Regions from separate parts of the Homo sapiens genome. Here region 2 is linked to region 1. Evidence: promoter capture Hi-C in human tissues and cell types (Jung and others, 2019). All regions are on one chromosome and are shown on one strand. The core of a region is centred on a gene start or on the middle of the fragment in contact, and the rest is flanking DNA. Distances in the headings are between cores, read along the strand shown. Region 1 holds the start of CST8 (cystatin 8). Region 2 has its middle 25 kb from the start of CST9L.

Region 1 (4,581 bases), core at 1,493-3,992:
TTTGTCAATACCTCCAAGTGATTGTGATGCCTGCTCACATTGGAGAACCACCAATGTAAAGACAGGGACAGTGATGCACCTGTTGGGCAAACCTGCAGAATGCTCAGGCCTTCATCTGTCTGGGACCAAGTACTGGCCTATGAGCTGCTCTGAGATAAAAAATACAGGCTTGAAGCCAAAAGCCCCTGGGCCAAGTCCTCCTTTTGTTGGGAGTCTGTGGGTTTGCCCCAACCTTCCTGGAAACCTGGACTGACCCCAGCAAAAATCAACTGTAAACCCAGGAGGGTGGGGCCACCCTCTGGCTTAGTCATTGCTTAATCTCCAGCACCCAGAATAGACCTGGTGCAAAGCACGTAGCACCTGGTGCTCAGTAATTTTCTATGAGTGGATGAGTGAATGAATGAAGTTCCTTTTGTGTCTGTATGGGGATGAGTGACCATGGGCCCAGCAATAGTGGGTGGCTTGTCTGGACCCAAGAGGACAGGCTTTTGGTGATTATGTGTTGTCCAGTGTGCCTGCATCAAAAGGCCAGAAGTCAATGGAGCCCTTGAGATAAGAGTGGTCTTGACAACATCCTTTCTGCAGGATGAAGGATGAGAAAGAAGCTCAGAGGGTTCCACCACGTTCCGTGGCCCTGGATCTTCTGCTATAAAGGCCACAGGGTTGGCTATCTGGGGCTAAACACTGGGAGCCACCCAGACCTCAAAGAGAAGGTCTGCGTGCCTCAGCTTTCTCTCTTGGGTTCAGAGCTGCCTAGGCCGTCACAGATGAGTGGTTCATCACCTACCCTTTTCAGCTTGGAGTTTTCTTGAATGGCGCAGATTTCATTAGTGCTTAAAGGCTTTCTGCAATCGCTGCGGGCAATTTCTACATCAATAAGGTATTCCAGAAGATTTGTGACCTGTTGGTTAGCAATTATGCAATTTTATTCAAAAGAGTTGTACTTTTTTAAAGTTTTGACAAAAAAAAAAAATTACTCTTACTCTCGTCCTTTCCTCTTTCCTTCCTCCCTCACCCCCAGACAGAGCTTTAGCGGAAGGCTAAGATGCCCACTGCCTGGAGCCCTGTGTACAACAAGATCAGTCAGGACTCCATAGGCTCCTGGAGCTGGACACTTGAGTAAAGACTCCTCTCCAGTTTGTCACCTCCTTGAAAGCAAGGCCTTCTCATTCCATTTCCTGTCCCCAAGCCCAGGGCATGCTGCATGCTCAGTGAGGACTGAGAGGTGAAAGGTGGGCTCTTCAGAACCATCAGCTCTCCTGGGCCTGAGATGCTCAGGTTCACACAGGCCTGACCAGGGGACAGCCCCCTCAGCCACATTAGGCCCCAGTCCCTCAGATTCCTGTGAAACCTCCCATCCTCTGGGGTTTCCCCACCCAAAGCCCCTCCCACCAGCTCAGCACACAGTCCATGAGGACCCATGCAGGCATGAGTTTGCCTGTCTTGTTCTCTGCTGAGTCTTTAGTGAGTAGAACAGCAGTAGGTTTATAGCAGGACATTAGTATTTGTTGAACTCATTAGTGACTGAATGCAATCAAGGCTACTTGTGATGTCCATTTAAATCTGTTTTCATCTGGCATTAAAGGATTACAGCAGGAGATGAAGGAGTGTCTGCTAGTTGGGTCCAGGTTCACCTGGACTCACCTTTATCAGATCTTTTCTCATGGCTAGCATTCTATCTGTCTCCCAACCTTAGCAAATACATGAACATTTGATTTGCAGTTTGGGGTTTAAATGAGTTAATCTATGCGAAGGACTTAGAACAAAAGCGCAAGCGTTTGTAGAAAGTGCTCTGTGTGTTCACTGCCTTATTGATGCTGTGGAAGTGTCTAGGCTCTTAAGCATTCACATATTTAGGATTTTTGCATAGTGATATTTTTCTTATATGCCCACTCTTTCAGTCTGGCTTCAACTGTGCCACCATATGCAAATGTCCACCTATATGGAAAGACACCTTTACCTGAAGCTGGGCTTGCAGTGTCTTGACCACCAGGAAGACATACTTGTCCTCGCTCTCTTTGTTGTATTCTTGCATGGCAAACCACAGACACTGCTTCACGTTGGCATTTGAGGCATTGACGGGTTTTAATTTCCTCAGCACCCCTGTCTCATTCTTTTTTGGGTCTTTCCTGGCCACCAGGGCCAGGGGAATGGTGAGGAGGATCAGGGAGAGCCACCGGCACCTGGGCATGGTCCCTTGGGCAAGAGGCAAAGTCGACTCTCCTCCTCGTCGTCTCAGGGCTGGAGCTGTGGGCAGGATGGGGTGGCCGCAGCTGCTGCTGTGGGTTCAAGAATCTTCGAGCCACACACTGCCTCCTGTTAGCGTCAGCCCAGCTGGATTCAAGACAGGCCATTAGGGTCACTCTTTGGGGTTTGTCCTCTCTTTCTCCATGGAAACCCACCCAGGAATGCCAGTTAAGGAGTCTCTCTACCAGCCTCCCCTCCTTACCCTGAGAGCAATCTGTGTGTCTAGGGAGAGTTCCTCTCCCCTTCGGCCCCAGTGTGTCTATGCCTACCCCTGTGAGCGTCACTCTTGTTATCTGCTTCTCAGTCCTGTATGATGTGATCATGAAAACTGTGGCTGCCCCAGAGGCCTTGTGGCCTCAGCCCTTGGTGGACTTTCAGCCTGCTGTGCCTGCAGCTCCTTCTTACTCCCTGTGGAGCTGGGAGCTGACCTGACCAGTGGTTCTCCTAGGTCTTCAGCACTCTTAGTTCATGCCTGTGGCCCAGTCAAGGGTCTCTGTGGGTCCTGGTCTGCGGTCTCTCTTGCCCCTCTGAGTCCACGCCCTGCAGGGAGGTTACGCTTTGTGATGTAATTCAGCACCTGTGTCTTGTCCCAGTGAGGACATCTCCCACTTGCCAGCCTCCGGCCTTTGGTCTAAACAGCTCTCACAGGGGCACAGAGAGCAAGCAAATGCCTCCTGCTGTGCCCTCAGAGTCAGGGGCCTGCAATGGTTAATACTGAGTGTCAACTTGATTTGATCGAAGGACACCAAGTATTGATCCTGGGTGTGTCTGTGAGGGTGTTTCCAAAAGAGATTAACATTTGAGTCAGTGGGCTGGGGAAGGCAGATCCACCTTTAATCTGGTGGGCACAATCTAATCAGCTGCCAGCGAATATAAAGCAGGCAGAAAAACGTGAAAAGGAGAGATGGTCCTAGCCTCCTAGTCTACATCTGTCTCCCATGCTAGATGCCTCCTGCCCTCGAACATCAGACTCCAAGTTCTTCAGTTTTGGGACTCTCAGACTGGCTCCCCTTGCTCCTCAGTTTGGCAGACAGCCTGTTGTGGGCCCTTGTGATCATGTAAGTTAATACTTAATAAACTCCCTTTTATATACATATTATTTATATATATAATTTATGTATATTTTATATATATATAATTTATATGTATATTTTATATATATACAATTTATATATATATTTTATATATATAATTTATATATAATTTTTATATATAAATTATATATATTTTATATATAATTTATATATATAAATTATATATATTTTATATATAATTTATATATATAAATTATATATATTTTATATATATAAATTATATATATTTTATATATATATAATTAATATATATATAATTTATATATATATTATATATATAATTAATATATATATAATTTATATATATATTATATATAATTAATATATATATAATTTATATATATATTATATATAATTAATATATATATAATTTATATATATATTATATATATAATTAATATATATATAATTTATATATATATTATATATATAATTAATATATATATAATTTATATATATATTTTATATATATATAAAGGGGAGTTTATTAAGTATTAACTTTATATATATACACAACCATATATATCCTATTAGTTCTGTCCCTTTAAAAGAACCCTGACTAATACAGGGCCCCTCTGGCATCTTCTGCCCACCTGTGCCAATGACTCTGGCTTCCTGAATGCCTGGCCTCTGAACTCCCTTGGCTTGGGCCAACAGTAACCCCCTGCCCTGTCCTGCCAGGGTAAGGGTCACGTGGCCCACTCTGATGCCCAGGCCTGGCCCTTAGTGGGAGGAGGGGGGCACGCACCTGTTAAGCTCTCAAAGCTTCTGCTTTTCTGTGAAAATCCCAAATCAGTGTCCAGAAAGTTCCTGGTGAGGCAGAGAGGTGAGCATTCTTCCTAGGCTGCAAAGATCAATGGGTTCTATGAGCAAGGGCAACGTACAGAAAACACATATGGGGCAGGAATCTGTCAGGCAGGTGGCAAAGCATTGCAGACTACAAATGCATTATGCTGTATTTAAACTTTCTCCCTATGACTAGATTCTTCAGTTTCTCATTTTCAGCTGTTACAAACAGTATTGCAGTGAACAATCCCTTTCCAATATCTTCATGATGTTACACAAGTGTTTTTGTAAAATAAAAGACTAGATGTAAAATTGATGCAAAGCTTTACGCAAATTTAAATTTATTATTTATTGCCAAAATGTTCGTCACTTACTAATTATATATTCATGATTTTCAAATCCTGCTGCATGTTAAAAGTACTGACGGAGATTTAAAACACCAGGGCATACCTAA
Region 2 (4,581 bases), core at 1,272-3,771, 52 kb before region 1:
TGCTGGGAACATCTGGTCAGTAGCATCCCTGGACCCCAACCCCAGGAAGGAAAAGGGGCACAGATTGTAGTGTAGTGTCACTAGCTTCCTCCTTCCCCAGAAATGTGAGTTCTTATTTAACCCTGCACCCCTCAGCTCCTAATCTGTCATCTGCTGTCCCTGAGTCATTTATATAAAGATGGCAACCTCTGCTTGGCTGTCCTCAAATGGTTACAGCTGAAGTCAAAAGTGGCAGTAGAAGAAAACACTAAGTATAAATTAGTTCCAAAATATGCTACATATACACTACTTTATTCTACCTTGTGGCCACTTTCCCATCTGCTGGAGGACATGTGGATACTTTCCTCATTTTTCTCAGGGGGTCAGGGCTGGGACACAGCCTTGGGGAGATTGACCATAATAATGAACACAAAGTGATGAGGAAAATGTGAGGTTTTTGCAGACTCCCCAAACCTCTCTCCTTGAGGCAGAGGAAGGGAAGATGGGGTGGAGCCTGGGGAGGGCAGGGAACTGCCGGGATACATACACAAGGAAACATCTCAGCTGTCAGTCCTGGCCCTGTATGTGGTCTCAGGACAACTCCCACTCACTCCAAATCTCCACTTCAGGTCCCAAGACCCAGAGTCCCTCATGTCCACATACCTCCTGTGAGTTGGAGTTCTGGTTCTTCCCTGGCCCCTGCTGAGCCCAGGAAAGGAACTGTCCTCTTCTGTTTGTGCTGCTATAACAGAATAACACAGGCTGGTTAATTTACAGGAAACAGAAATTTATTTTTCACAGCTCTAGAGGTTGGGAAGCCCAGGACCAAGGTGCCAGCATCTTGTGAGGGCCTCCCTGCTGTGTCCTCACGTGGTAGAAGGTGGAAGGGCAAGCTACACTGCATGAAGCCTCTTTGATATATGTCTGTGTCCTTCCTGGTGTGGCCAAGGCTAACACGGCCTTGGTAGAGAAGGAGACAATTTAGAGGTGTCTCAGGAGCCTCTATGTCCACACATTCCATTTCCTTTCATGCTCATATAAAAATATTGCTGTTAGTCAATAAACTCAAAAATTCCATGAGTCAGTGAAACTGTCTTGATCTTAATTCTTCATCCTGACTCTGACTCAGTGGGTCAACAGAGGCCAGATGGTTTTGAAGAGCTAAACCTGAACCCATGCACAGATCACATTAACAAAACTGACCTTAGATGTGGGCAGTAGGGTTTGGTATGCCCTAAGACAACATGGGGTATGAGTATGATGGAAACAAGCAGCCCGGGACATGTGAAGACCCAGGTCCCTCCAATGTTCAATCACACTGTCAGGGCTCAGCAAAGAACACCTTCCTCCATGGGCTGCTCATGAGACCACATAGGGCTGGCCAGCTCAGGCCAAGAAGCAAGGGAGACCAAGTCCCCCAGATGGACAGGTTGCATACCCACGGAGCTTGGGGATGAAGGCGAGGGTAGATGAGAGAGATGTGTCCTCAGGTGCTGCAGCTAGTAGCATAGGGATCCCATTCCTGAGGCAGGGAGAGAATGGAACAAGAACTGCTCTGACAGTGTCCCCACAACCCTGCCAGCACATGGGAAAGAAAGGGGCCCAGGGTTGTGCGGGGCCATGAAGAACGCCACTTCACCTGCCCGCCACCCAAGAGCTCAACTGCTGGCAGATGTTAGAGAGTGCAGGTTGAGGACTGACCTCTTACCTTTTTTTCTTTATTTCTGAAATTCCTGTTTAAGGACCTGAGGAATCATGCCTTGCAAACCATAAAATTTCATCAAAAAGGTCCTTTCTGACCCAGTACATTGTGACTTGTTTTCCAACCTGACTCTGGCATGGCATCACCTGACAGATAGTAGAGCCCCTTAGCATTCCTTTCTACTGACTCCATGTTTTAGACAAAGCTTAACTTTTTCTACCAATTTCAAACTAAAGAATCCCTAAACCCACCTAAAACTTGTAAGCCAATGCCTTGAGATGTCCCACCTTTTGGGACCAAACCAATATATACCTTCCATGTATTGATTTATAATTTTACCTGCAACTCCTGGCTCCATGACATGCTTCAAACTAACCTGTAACCGGACCACCTCAGCCACACTTTCTCAGGACCTCTTGAGACTGTGTTTCCCTTTCTTGGTCACTCATATGGCTCAGAATAAACCTCTTTAAATATTTTGGCAGAATTTGGTTTTTCCGTTGTCAAGGTAAAGGGTATCCTGATTTCTGATCTCAGCCAGGCAAGCCCCTGGGGGTCTCAGGGTGCCATTTACAGTAGATCTGGGTTCCACTATCAAGTTGGCTCCTCCAGAAGCTGACTTGGAGACAAAAAATTCAAGTACAAGTGGCTTATTTAGAAATGATTCCAGAAAGGCAGTTGAAAAGTGGAAATAGTAAGGGGCAGAAGCAGCACGGATAGTGAGATTAGCAATATGGATAGCTAGGGCTCAGTCTTGCAGGACACTCCTCAGTGACTGGGTAGACACAACTTGGCGTTATATCCCAGGGGATAAAAGGCCAGGATGTTTATCCTCCAAATTCTATCATTGGCTGAGGGCTCCTCTCAAGGGTATTACCCACTGGCACTCCAGCCTGCCCTTCATTGGCAGAGAAAGCCATTAGGCAGAGAGGCTCAGAAGGTTGCAGTCAGCCCTGTCGGAGAAGAGCCCTCAAGGACAGCTGTCATGCAGGTGGCCTCTGAGCATCACCATCCTTCCGTCATGTGTCTAAGTTAGAATCTGACCCTGTATTACTACTGGTTATTACACAATATTGTCTCCTTGCCCCAGCCTGCACATTGGTGCTGCTGTCTAAGCATCAGGATTTCAAAAGTGCCTCTTTACGGTCATGGTATCACCTTAGTCCACTCTCCATACACATGCATGCGCACACATGCACACATGTGTACACACTGTAGTGGCTGGCCTCCCAGATGGCCTCCAGTGACCCTAATCTCTATCTTTATGTCGTTGTGTAGTCCACACTGAGCCAGGGCTGTTCTGGGTTGAGTCTAGTTTACAAAGGATACAGTGGCTTCCATCTTGGTCTCTGGGAACACTGTGTCTGGAACAAGTCATCCAGGATACCAAGCTGACGTACAGTCTTGTGGAGAAGCCACGTGGAGAACAGAGACCTCAGTCAATAACCATTATCAACCTGCAGGCATGGGAGTGAGCTACCTTGGAAAGGATTCTCCAGAGTCCATCAAACCTTTAAATAATGGCAGCACAGTCAATATCAGAGTGTAACCCAATGAGATGTGACAACCAGAGCTGCCCAGTCTGGCCATCCAGAGATGCCTGACTCACAGACACCATGAGACATATAAATCAATTGCTTGAGCCATTAAGTGACCAGGTGACTTGTCATACAGCATTAACTGATACATCTAACTGTGAGCACACACTTATGCACAGACATGCACACGTGTGCATACACACAAACACACACACACACACGAATGTAGTCTTCTCTCCCTGCATCATTAACTTTTCTGCTTCAATTCAAAACCAATGAAAATCTCTAAATGGCCCAGCTGTCTCTCTGGTTGGATCTGGTTAAAACTAACTTTCTAAGCTAACAGGCTGTGTCTTCCAAAAAGTCCTGGGAAGGGAGATTTCCGTAGAAATCCATGGACGGAAACTCTCAAGGCAGCCAGACTCTCAGAGCCTTACAGAGAGTGCCAGCATGCTTGAAGCAATTGAGGGCTGGGTCCTCTGGTTATCTAGAAAGATTTGTCCATGAAAAGTAATTTGTACTCAGAGTTGGGTGAGGTGTAGAAACCACTTCCATTTATTGCAGCAGATTATCCCAGCTAGTAGGGGAAGTATCCAGCAAGAATAGGCTATGCAATGCTGTCAAAACACATCATGGATTTTCAACATCAGCCCATGAAGAACACACAAAAATGCAAAAAGGCCAAACAAATGAAGTTAATGGGTTAACTGTGTTGTTCTAGTTCTTGCAAGTGTCTTTGCTTCTTCTTTAAAATGGAAATGAGTGTGGCAGAACACACTAGAAGATAACTACATATCTTTGCATTGTTTCTTCAGCATGGTGAGTTCAAATTTCCATGGTTTAGATGCAACAATAAAAGTACAAAAAACCACCTGAAAGAGACAAAAAGAATAGTCAGTTTCTATTTTAAAAAGAAGGAAACAAAAGCAGAAGTTCCTATTTCCAGGCAGGAGTTAGATTCAGCAGGGCTAATCTGTCTGAGTCAGCCACGCCTCATCAGAAAACAGAGGATCCAGCCCCCTCACCAGAGGAGTCCTCATCAGTTCACCTCTTGTGATCTGAGCCATCATGGGTGTGGCTTTATTCACTCCAGGAGAGCAAGGATCAGAGCCCAAGGACAGGTTATTATTGGAAAATCCCCATCTCCAGCCCTGACTCTCATCCAGCCACATGGACTCCCTGTAGCCTACAGAGACCCCATGCTGCACAGACAGTCCTACCCAGGGAATGCAACATTGCAAGAATATTACCAGGTCCTGCACCCCTTGGGGAAATAAAAATGTGCCAGCAACCAAGGAGGAAAGCTTGCAGCTGTAGGGCTGGAAGGAAACAAGTAGCTCTCATACCAGAGTCCTGCAGAAC

Evidence for each region. Contacts are between HindIII fragments. The study calls those that stand out against the background at their distance.
Region 2: a contact is called between a fragment that was not itself captured here and the fragment with the promoter of CST8 in region 1, in 1 of the 25 tissues and cell types used here (stomach).

The regions. Positions count from the first base shown.
Region 1 is chr20:23,489,278-23,493,858 of GRCh38, reverse strand. CST8 (cystatin 8) reads right to left here and starts at 2,742. Exons shown (of 4, transcript NM_005492.4): 1 at 2,517-2,742; 2 at 1,961-2,334; 3 at 788-901. The coding sequence starts at 2,191. RefSeq lists an enhancer at 2,778-3,278. The HindIII fragment of the contact is 12,460 bases long and covers 1-4,278 here.
Region 2 is chr20:23,541,184-23,545,764 of GRCh38, reverse strand. It overlaps the pseudogene CST13P. Among named protein-coding and RNA genes, the nearest start is that of CST9L, 25 kb to the left of the region's middle. The HindIII fragment of the contact is 4,942 bases long and covers 51-4,581 here.